2 separate regions of the Homo sapiens genome follow, and region 1 is linked to region 2. The links are contacts of gene promoters, found by promoter capture Hi-C in human tissues and cell types (Jung and others, 2019). All regions are on one chromosome and are shown on one strand. Each heading gives the region's core, a stretch centred on a gene start or on the middle of the fragment in contact. The rest is flanking DNA. Distances are from core to core; before and after follow the strand shown.

Region 1 (3,975 bases), core at 626-3,125, 68 kb before region 2:
TGATCGTGGGTGTCAGCCTCCAAAATTGTGAGAAATAAACCTCAGTTGTTTAAGCCACCCAGGCTATGGTACTTTCTTATAGCAGCCCGAGCAGACTGAGGACATATGGGGAGGAGAGCTTTGTTTTGCAGCCTACTAAGTGTGAGAAACTGATCTGCAGTCCAAGAGGCAAGCTGGGGCCAGAGAGACAGAGTGGGGACATCATGAGCAAGCGGGGGCCAAGCTGGGGTTGTGCACAGTCTCCCTGTGAAACAGTGTTGTCTGACAACAGGGTTAAGGCTAGAATTTGGGGAACACCAATAAATAACAAGAAGATGAGAGGAGGGAAGGGGCCAGTGAAGGAAGCTGAGAGGAACGCTCGCAGAGGGAGGAGGTGAGTCATGAGGAAGTGCCCAGGAGGACCCAGCAACAGAGTCAGAGGCACAGAGAAGCCACGTGGGAAGCACTGCAGTGTTCAACACCTCTGACAAGGAGTGAAAGCTCTGGGGAAAAAATAGGGTGTGGAAGTCAACTGGCAGTTGCTGTGGGGGGATGTACAACCAAGAAAGGGTGACTTACTTGTTTCAATTTTAAACAACAAATATGTGAACAGGGCTTTAGTCTGCAAGAAGCCAGCAGAGCCTTCTTTTCCCTTTTGCCATCTTCACCTGGCCTCCTGGGCCAGGGCACGCTGCCATCCAGGTGTCCAGCCAAGCTTCCTGTGCATGGATGACCACCTGTTGCCCCAGGATTTGGCACTGTCCAACTTCCCAGCATAGCTGCCTTTCTGCTGCCCCACCACAATGCCAGCTACATTGGGTGCTGACCACATGCCACACACCCTGCTCCACAAACATCAGTTAGTGTCCTGAAGAACCTCATGAGGGAAACTTGACCAGACCCAGCTTAGAGGTGAAGAACCCAGGCTTTAGAAAAGTCAAGTCACCTGCCTGATGTCATACTGCTGGTAAATGCTGTGCAGAATTTGAACACTGTGTGTCAAACTCCACTGCACTTCCCTGCCTCAAAAGAGCCTTTCATTTCTTCCTTGAAAGAGCTGCCCCACACTGACACAAACCCATGCAGGGCGAGAACAGGACACACCTTCTGACGCGGCACTCCTGGGTAGGCTGTTGCAGGAATGGCCCCCCAGTTGTTTATACCTTCCAATCTTCACACCCTTGGGTTCCCCCTTTTCACATTGATTCTGGGCTCAGTCACATGACTTACTTTGGCCAACAGACCATTAGCAACTGTGACAGACACTTATAAAATACTTATGCACTGGGTTTGTGTGCCCTCTCTTGTTCTCCTTGGAACCCTCATGTGGAAAGCCCGGGCTGGGCTGCAGTAGCATGGACGGACCCACATGGAGCACAGGTGAGCTGTTCCTGCCCAGACCTCTCCAGACCGAGCAGCCTCCCAACCACCAGACAGGTGAGGGAGGGCCTCTTTGACCATCCAGCCTGGGCTGCGCTATCCGCACCAGAAGAAACACCCAGAAGACCCACAGAATCATAGTAAGTAATGTTTACTGTCTTAAGCCATCAAGTTTTGGGGTGGTTTGTTGCACAGCAAAAGCTAGCTAACTGATACAAGTCCTTAAAGAGGCCTGAGCTAGCATCTCCTTCCAGCTCTGAAGCACTGGAGGATAATTCTTGGATCTCTAGTGTCCACAGACTCTTTCTGCAATGTCAGAACCACCCAAGAATACAGCACTGTCCTTGGCCTGGAGGGTCACTCTGCTCCTAGAAAGCAGGAAAAGGAAGAGGCCTTTATATACCTTCTCCCCAGGACACACAGGGCCTGCAGGCAGCCCTGGTGGGTGCCAGGTTACTTAGGGACAAGGTGACAGTGGCATGCTTTTGCCATTTGTCCCCAGCCAAGTGTTTTTCCACTGATGTGAAAGGAAAAAGATAATTTCTCTAGTGAGCCCTACTGCAAAGACTCTGAGGCAGCATTTCATCAAAGGGTGCTGGGAAGCACTGGGGAGACAGCAAAACCCAAAAACCTCCAGCTCCACTCAGCAAGGAGCTTGCTGCTTCTGTTTCCAGAGAGGCGGAAAAATGAATGAGCACTCAGGAAAGCCAACCTGATCAGTGGCACTTTGATAAGATGACAAAATTGCTCCCTCCTCCAGTCCAAATCCACTCTCTGTGGTGAACTATTATGGGAAGGAAGCATCAACTAATTAGAAGCATCTCTGGGACATGAGAAAAATCAGCACCTAAAATGCCTAAGCAGAGAGAATTCCTTGTTAAGAAGAGAGAAAACAAAACAAAAAACTGCTAGGATGTCACTTTGCCCAAGCATATTTATAAAGGGAGGAGGAGATAAGAATTAATTGGGACAGGAGCTTCTACCTAAGTGACATAAAAGACACAATTATTTTTGCTGCTTTTACAGATCAAGTGCCCCTTCCAGGTGGGGATAGAGCCCTGGCACCACCCACCATTTTGAAAAATGACTTTTAGTCTTCCGTAGTTCTAACTAAGCTTGAAATTAAGATGGTTCTTTTGTTTACTCCCCCTGTTGGGGAAGCTCTAACCACCTATCAAAAACACCAATGTCTGGATTATTTATTTCTCATTGTCCAACCTACGGGGCATAGAAGAGTTTTATGAAGCCAACATGTGAGGCGTTTCTCCCAAAGAAGCGTGGATGCACCTCCCCATATTGCAGAGCCCTTTTATACTATGGTCCTTTGATAATCTGGATTTTGACAGACAGAACTAATGCCTGACTTGGAGCAGGACAAAGAGCCCTGGAAGTCAGAGGCTTCATTCTTGTCACCCTCTTTCCTTTATAAGCTGCGAGCACTTGGGTAAGTCCCTTAACCTTGAGAAAATTCAATAAAACAAAGGGTTAGTGACTAATATATTACATCCTTTTTAAAAAACAAGTTGTGGTTTAAAAAGCCCCATATAACATGAGATCTACTGTCTTAACACATCTGTGAGTGTATAGTACAGTATTGTTAACCATAAGCACACTGTTGTAAAGCAGATCTCTAGAACTGACTCAGCTTGCACTACTGAAACTCCACGCCCACTGAGCAGCAACCTCACTTCCTCCTTCCTCCGGCCCCTGGCACTCAACCATTCTATGTTCTGCTTCTACGAGTCAACTGCCTTAGATACCTCATATCAGTGGAATCAGGCAGTATTGGTCCTTTATGACTGGCTTATTTCATTTAGCATAGTGTCCTCAAGGTTCAAATATATATCCTTACAATGATACTGACATGGTACTCACTGTTTCCATGGTAAGTGGTTACATATATTAACGTATTTAGCCCTCACAGAAACCCTTCAAGGTAAGGTGGCATGATTATCTCCTTTTGATAGATGAGGAAACTGAGGCAAAGGGAGGTGAAGTGAGGTGCCTATGCTTACCTGCTGTGTAAGTGGCTCCAGACTCCTTTTTTTTTTTTTCCAAGACAGGGTCTCACTCTGTTGCCCAGGCTAGAGCATAGTTATGCTATCATAGCTCACTGTAGCTTTGACCTCCTGGGCTCAAGTGATCCTCCCAACTCAGCCTCCCAAGTAGCTGGGACGAAAGGCACATGCCACCACATCCACCTAATTTTTTAAATTTTTTGTAGAGACGAGGTCTCACTATGTTGCCCAGGCTGGCCTCGAATTCCAGGACTCAAATGATCCTCCAGCCTTGGCCTCCCAAAGTGTTGAGACTACAGGTGTGAGCCACCACACCCAGCCCAGACTCCATTCTCTTGAACATAACACCATGTTCTTTCTGTACAGTTTAAAATTTCTATTTTAGCAAGTAGGCTCACAGAGATACTGAAGTCACTGAGGAAGATGGCAAAAGATGGGGCAGGGAGGATAAACGAGATGTGGTGTTGGAGAGATCTACCCTTGTATAGTTCAGAGTGGTCTTTCACAGCAGGAAGAGGATGGCCTTGGAGCCAGGGAGACCTGGGCCCAGTCCTGGCTCTCCCTTGCTCTAGGCCCTTGGGAAACACCAGTCACCAAA
Region 2 (4,447 bases), core at 197-2,696:
AGGTTGTGGCTTCTCTTGCATATCTTGGTCTGGGATGACCTATCTACTCAGTGTGTCCCATTTCAGGTACCGTATTTCCATGCTGGGAAAAGAGAGATGATGACTGCTGAGGGGCTGCACATACAGATGCTCCTAACCCTGCTTGCCACATAACAATCTGTGACCAAATGCAAAGTGGGCCAAATGTAACTTGCTGCAAAGGTTTGCCATGTACAATGGTTTTCAGTGGTGAGTGGAGAAGTAGCTGCTGGAATGACTGACCATGTGGGGTTCATTAAGCTGTTGTGCATTCACCCACGAGAAAGGCTGGGATGCTTGTGAAGGGAACTCCACTCTTCATTTCAGAAATTTTAACGCCCCACCATTTGGCAATGATGCTCCCAAGGAGAATGGCAGATATGCATCAGAAGGTTCAAACGTGGAGTCCAACTGAAGTGCAGTAAACTTCTGCCTTCAACAGTCTCACCCCCCTTTACCCCCCCCCCAGTTGTATTTATACTTTGAAAGAAGTTAACATGAAGCAGTAGTCACCTGGGCGTGCTCAATTTTTGACAAGCCTTAGTCACTCTGTACCCAGCAGAACAATTCACATTATATTCGAAATCCTGTGAAGATTCTGCCACACATGCTAACACTAAAATGCCAGTAGCTCCACTTACCTTCTTTATTAAGCCTCATAACCTCCCTGCTTTTTCCACCCTCTTTTCCAGCCTCTTCTAAATCTACATCTGCAGATGAAAAAGAAAAGGAAAACAGAAAATAAGGAAAAAAGGGGGGAAAAAAGCCAAAGTCAAGGGGGGAGGGAGAGTGTTTATTTGCAAACAGATCGATATAAATACTGTATATGAAATTCTTTCAAAAATTGACAATGCAACATTTTCTCCCAAGTCTGGGTTTCCATCTACCTGGCCCAGATAGGTACCCAAAAAACTATGCAAGCAGCAACAAAGTAGCCTTTTAAACGGACAACACCGTGGGGCTGCGAGCCCACCCCGCGGGCTGCCACGGGGAGCCGGGCACAGACAGACAGACAGCCCTGGCAGCCGGGCCTCTCCCTGTGCATTGATGATCTGTCTCTGTGTGTATTTATTTAGAGAGAGAGGGAGAAGCATGGAGGACACCGGGGGCCACTCTCTCTCTCACACACACACTTTTTCCCAGTGGCTCTAGGTGAATGGAAAGGTTACAGGATAATAAAAGGAGGAGGAGGTGGTGGGGTTCTTACTGTCGGAGCAGTGTAATTTGGCGGCGTCGATCCAGGAGGACCAGGGTTTGCCCAGAAACGCCTCCGGACTGGGCACTTTGCGATCCAGTGTCGCCATTGCTCTTCCTTCTTGTTGCTTTTTCCCTGTTCCTTCGGCAGCAGCAGCCGAGAGACACGGGATTCGAGAACGCTCCGACGTCATCTTCGGAACGTTCCGACATTGAGTGTTCTGAAAGGGGGAGGGAGGGAGGAAGGGCGGGATGGGAGGAGGGCGGCGGAGGAGGAGGGGAGAGGGAGCGGAGGAGGGGCGGGCGCTCGGGCTCCCGGAGCCGGCTCGGTGGGGCTCGCGCGCCCGCGGCCGCCAGGGGCAGCAGAGAGGCACCTGCAGTCCGCGCCCGCCCGCCCGCCGGGGCCGCCCGCCTGCCGGGGAGGGGCAGCGCGGACGGGCGAGCGCCGCGTGCGGGAGAGCGAAGGCTGCAGCGCGCCCGGCAGCCGGGATGCAGCGGCGCCGCCCAAGCCTGGGGCGCAGGGGTCGGGGCACACGGGGATAGGCCCGACGCGGGGCCGAAGGAAGGGTGGTCTTTCCCGCAGAGTTGCCGCTGGAGGACCGAAAGTTTTGCAGGCAGCCCTTGCTTCCAGCTTGTCGCTCTCTCCCCGCGTCCCTGTCGCCCAACGCGAGGCGCCCCCGCTGGGGTCCCGACGGCTTGGTGGGGAGGAGCCGTGAGGGGTTGCGCCCCCCACCCCCACCCGAGCCAGGGAAGGGACCCTGGTGACCTCGCCTCCCAGCCCTCACCCCCGTCACCCCTTTCTTCTCTTTCCTGGAGGACTTTGGACCATGGAGATTCTGCAGTTGTTGCTCTAGGAGCTGAAACCAGTGGGTAGATGTCGTTCTGAAACGCAGGTGAGTTTGGAGCGCTACGAGCTACCTTCCCATCTCAGGCTGCGGGGCGTGCAAAACTCAAAAGTTAGGGCCCCCGGACCCCCGGGTTCCCCGCGCGGTGCGTATCTCCGGCTCTCAGAGAACCACTGCATGGACTTTGCTCCAGGGTCAGCAGAGCGGGAGGGCGAATTTACGGCTCTTGGAAGACGACGCTAACGGGCCTAGCCCCTGAGCCGTTTCCAGCGCTCCCTGCCGTGAGACGAGGGTGGCCCGGGTTTGCGCAGGCAACCTTTGGCCAGGAATCTGATTCCTGGGAGAATTCACTTCAGGCTTAACTGCTCTAGCCAGCTAGAAAGGGAGCGCTAGATTTCCTCTGGATTTTGGACGTTGGGTGCTTTAGTTGAGATTTTCACCCTTTAAAGAAGGCTTTAAAAAGTCTTCTGTTACTTCTTTTTAACAAATCCTTTTGTTTACTAGAATTATCTAAACTATATGGACACCGCCCTCACCCCACAAGCGACATATTTTTTTTTCTCTTTCGCCAGCACCCTTTTAGCTCTCACCACTGCTGTTTCCCAAGTTGTCACAGCTGAAGCGCACTGATTGGAAGTTGCTTTGTACTGACTGAGTTCTGCCCTGGCTGAACCATCTAATAATTTCCCTGAGCTTGGCACCCTGTATCGCTAAGCCAGTGTTAGGATGGGCGATGAAGGAGGAGCTGCGGATTTGCCTTTAGTTGTGATGTTTGTGTGAGTCGGCTTGTTTGTGTCAGACTCAGATAAACTGCATTTGCCTTTGCTCTCTTTCGAAGGGCTCCTACATAGCTAAGGTGTCGCTGGGTGAAGAATTCCCATTGTAAGAATTGGTGGTGTTAACAAATATGTATTACTTGTTGACCTCTTGTTATATGCTAGACCCTGGGCTTGACATTTCCTTCCTTCCTTCCTTCCTTCCATCTGTCCATCTTAAGTCAACCAATATTGCCTGTCATGGAACAGCTGTGCCCTCCTGTCAGGAGGGAAAGATGAGTGAGACCCATCCTCACCCTCACAGAGATGCAGTCTGGTGGTCTCTGGAAGAAGGAAGTTGTGAAACTTACCGATTCCTTGGGAAAACAGGCAGGTACACAGGGACTGGCCTGTGCAGTGGGTGGGGTGGTCTCTCAGCTGTGCCAGTTCATAGAGGAACCGAAATCTAGTTAGGAGTGAACAGAAACTGCGTAACAGAAGATGGGCTCTGCTCTGCATCTTGGAAATTGCCAAAGATTTGTAATGGTAAGGTGAAGACTGGTCTTGCGGAGGGAGGGGGAATAATGGTATTAGCAGAGGCTTCAAGCTGAGTATAAACATGGTGTGTTTGGGTGTTGAGCATGGTTTGCCTGGGATGGAGAATTGTTACTGGGGGCTTGGGGGTGATGCATTTTGATACCCAGGCCTGGATCAAATTATGGAAGGCACCAAACGGCAGCCTAAAGAGTCTGGATTTTGTTTGACAATGGGGAGCTACTGAAGGGCTTTCTGTACCATAAAGATAAGTTAAAAGTGTGAGTTAGAAAGATTGGAGTACGGAGCCTGGTTAGAAAAGTAGTGCTGCAATATTCATGGTGTGAAGAGATGAAAGCCTGAACTTTGGTGGTGCTATGCAGGTAGAGAAGAGGAGACAGGTGTGAGACTGTGAAGAGAGCACCTGATCAGAGGGTGTGCTGTTGGGCTAGATTTAGAGGTGGGGAGAGAGAATGCGAGAGCTCTGAGGCATGAGTAATTAGATGCTGGAACACTTTCCCTTTCCCTTCTGCTTCCCTATTTTCCCTCTATTTATTATCTATTTTGATGTTTATTCCTGTGTTGTTGTGCATGCAAGGAAGGTGTAGGCAGCAGCTAATGTGGCCCCAAAGGTCTGTACCTCCTGGTGTTCATGCCCTTGTGTAATCCTCTTTTCTTTAGTGTGGGCTAGACTTAGTCACTTGCTGATAACAAAGAGAATATAGCAAAAGTGGTGGGATGTCATTTCTGAGGTTAGGGTACAAAACTGCTGTCACTTCTGTTGCTCTCACTCTCTCTTGCATGCCCTGTCTTGCTCTAAGGGAAGCCCACTTCCATGTTGTAAGCTGCCTTATGGAGAGGACTGTGTGGCAGGTAACTGAGGGAGGCCTCTGGTCATCAGCCAGTGGGGAACTGAGGCCCTCAATACAACAGCCAGTGAGGAGCTTAATCCTGCTAGTAGCCATGTGAGTGGGCCACTTGCTGGGAGTCAGTGACTTGAGCTTCCAGAATGCTGTCTCCTCTTCTGGGAGCTACTGTAAACCACTCAAAAAAATCAAAGGTGGCTTATCATCAGAAGTCAGGACACCTCAGTTATAGTGA

Evidence for each region. The method cuts DNA at HindIII sites, captures the fragments that hold promoters and counts their contacts. A contact is called where the count stands out against the background at its distance.
Region 1: a contact is called between a fragment that was not itself captured here and the fragment with the promoter of ATXN7L1 in region 2, in 3 of the 25 tissues and cell types used here (IMR-90 fibroblasts, mesenchymal stem cells and pancreas).

The regions. Positions count from the first base shown.
Region 1 is chr7:105,806,374-105,810,348 of GRCh38, forward strand. All of the region lies in intron 2 of ATXN7L1 (ataxin 7 like 1), which reads right to left. Among named protein-coding and RNA genes, the nearest start is that of ATXN7L1, 68 kb to the right of the region's middle. RefSeq lists enhancers at 2-171, 332-381, 1,022-1,071, 2,543-2,612, 2,733-2,842. The HindIII fragment of the contact is 3,708 bases long and covers 22-3,729 here.
Region 2 is chr7:105,875,153-105,879,599 of GRCh38, forward strand. ATXN7L1 (ataxin 7 like 1) reads right to left here and starts at 1,447. Exons shown (of 12, transcript NM_020725.2): 1 at 1,226-1,447; 2 at 660-728. The coding sequence starts at 1,406. RefSeq lists a silencer at 1,490-1,699. The HindIII fragment of the contact is 16,114 bases long and covers 1-4,447 here.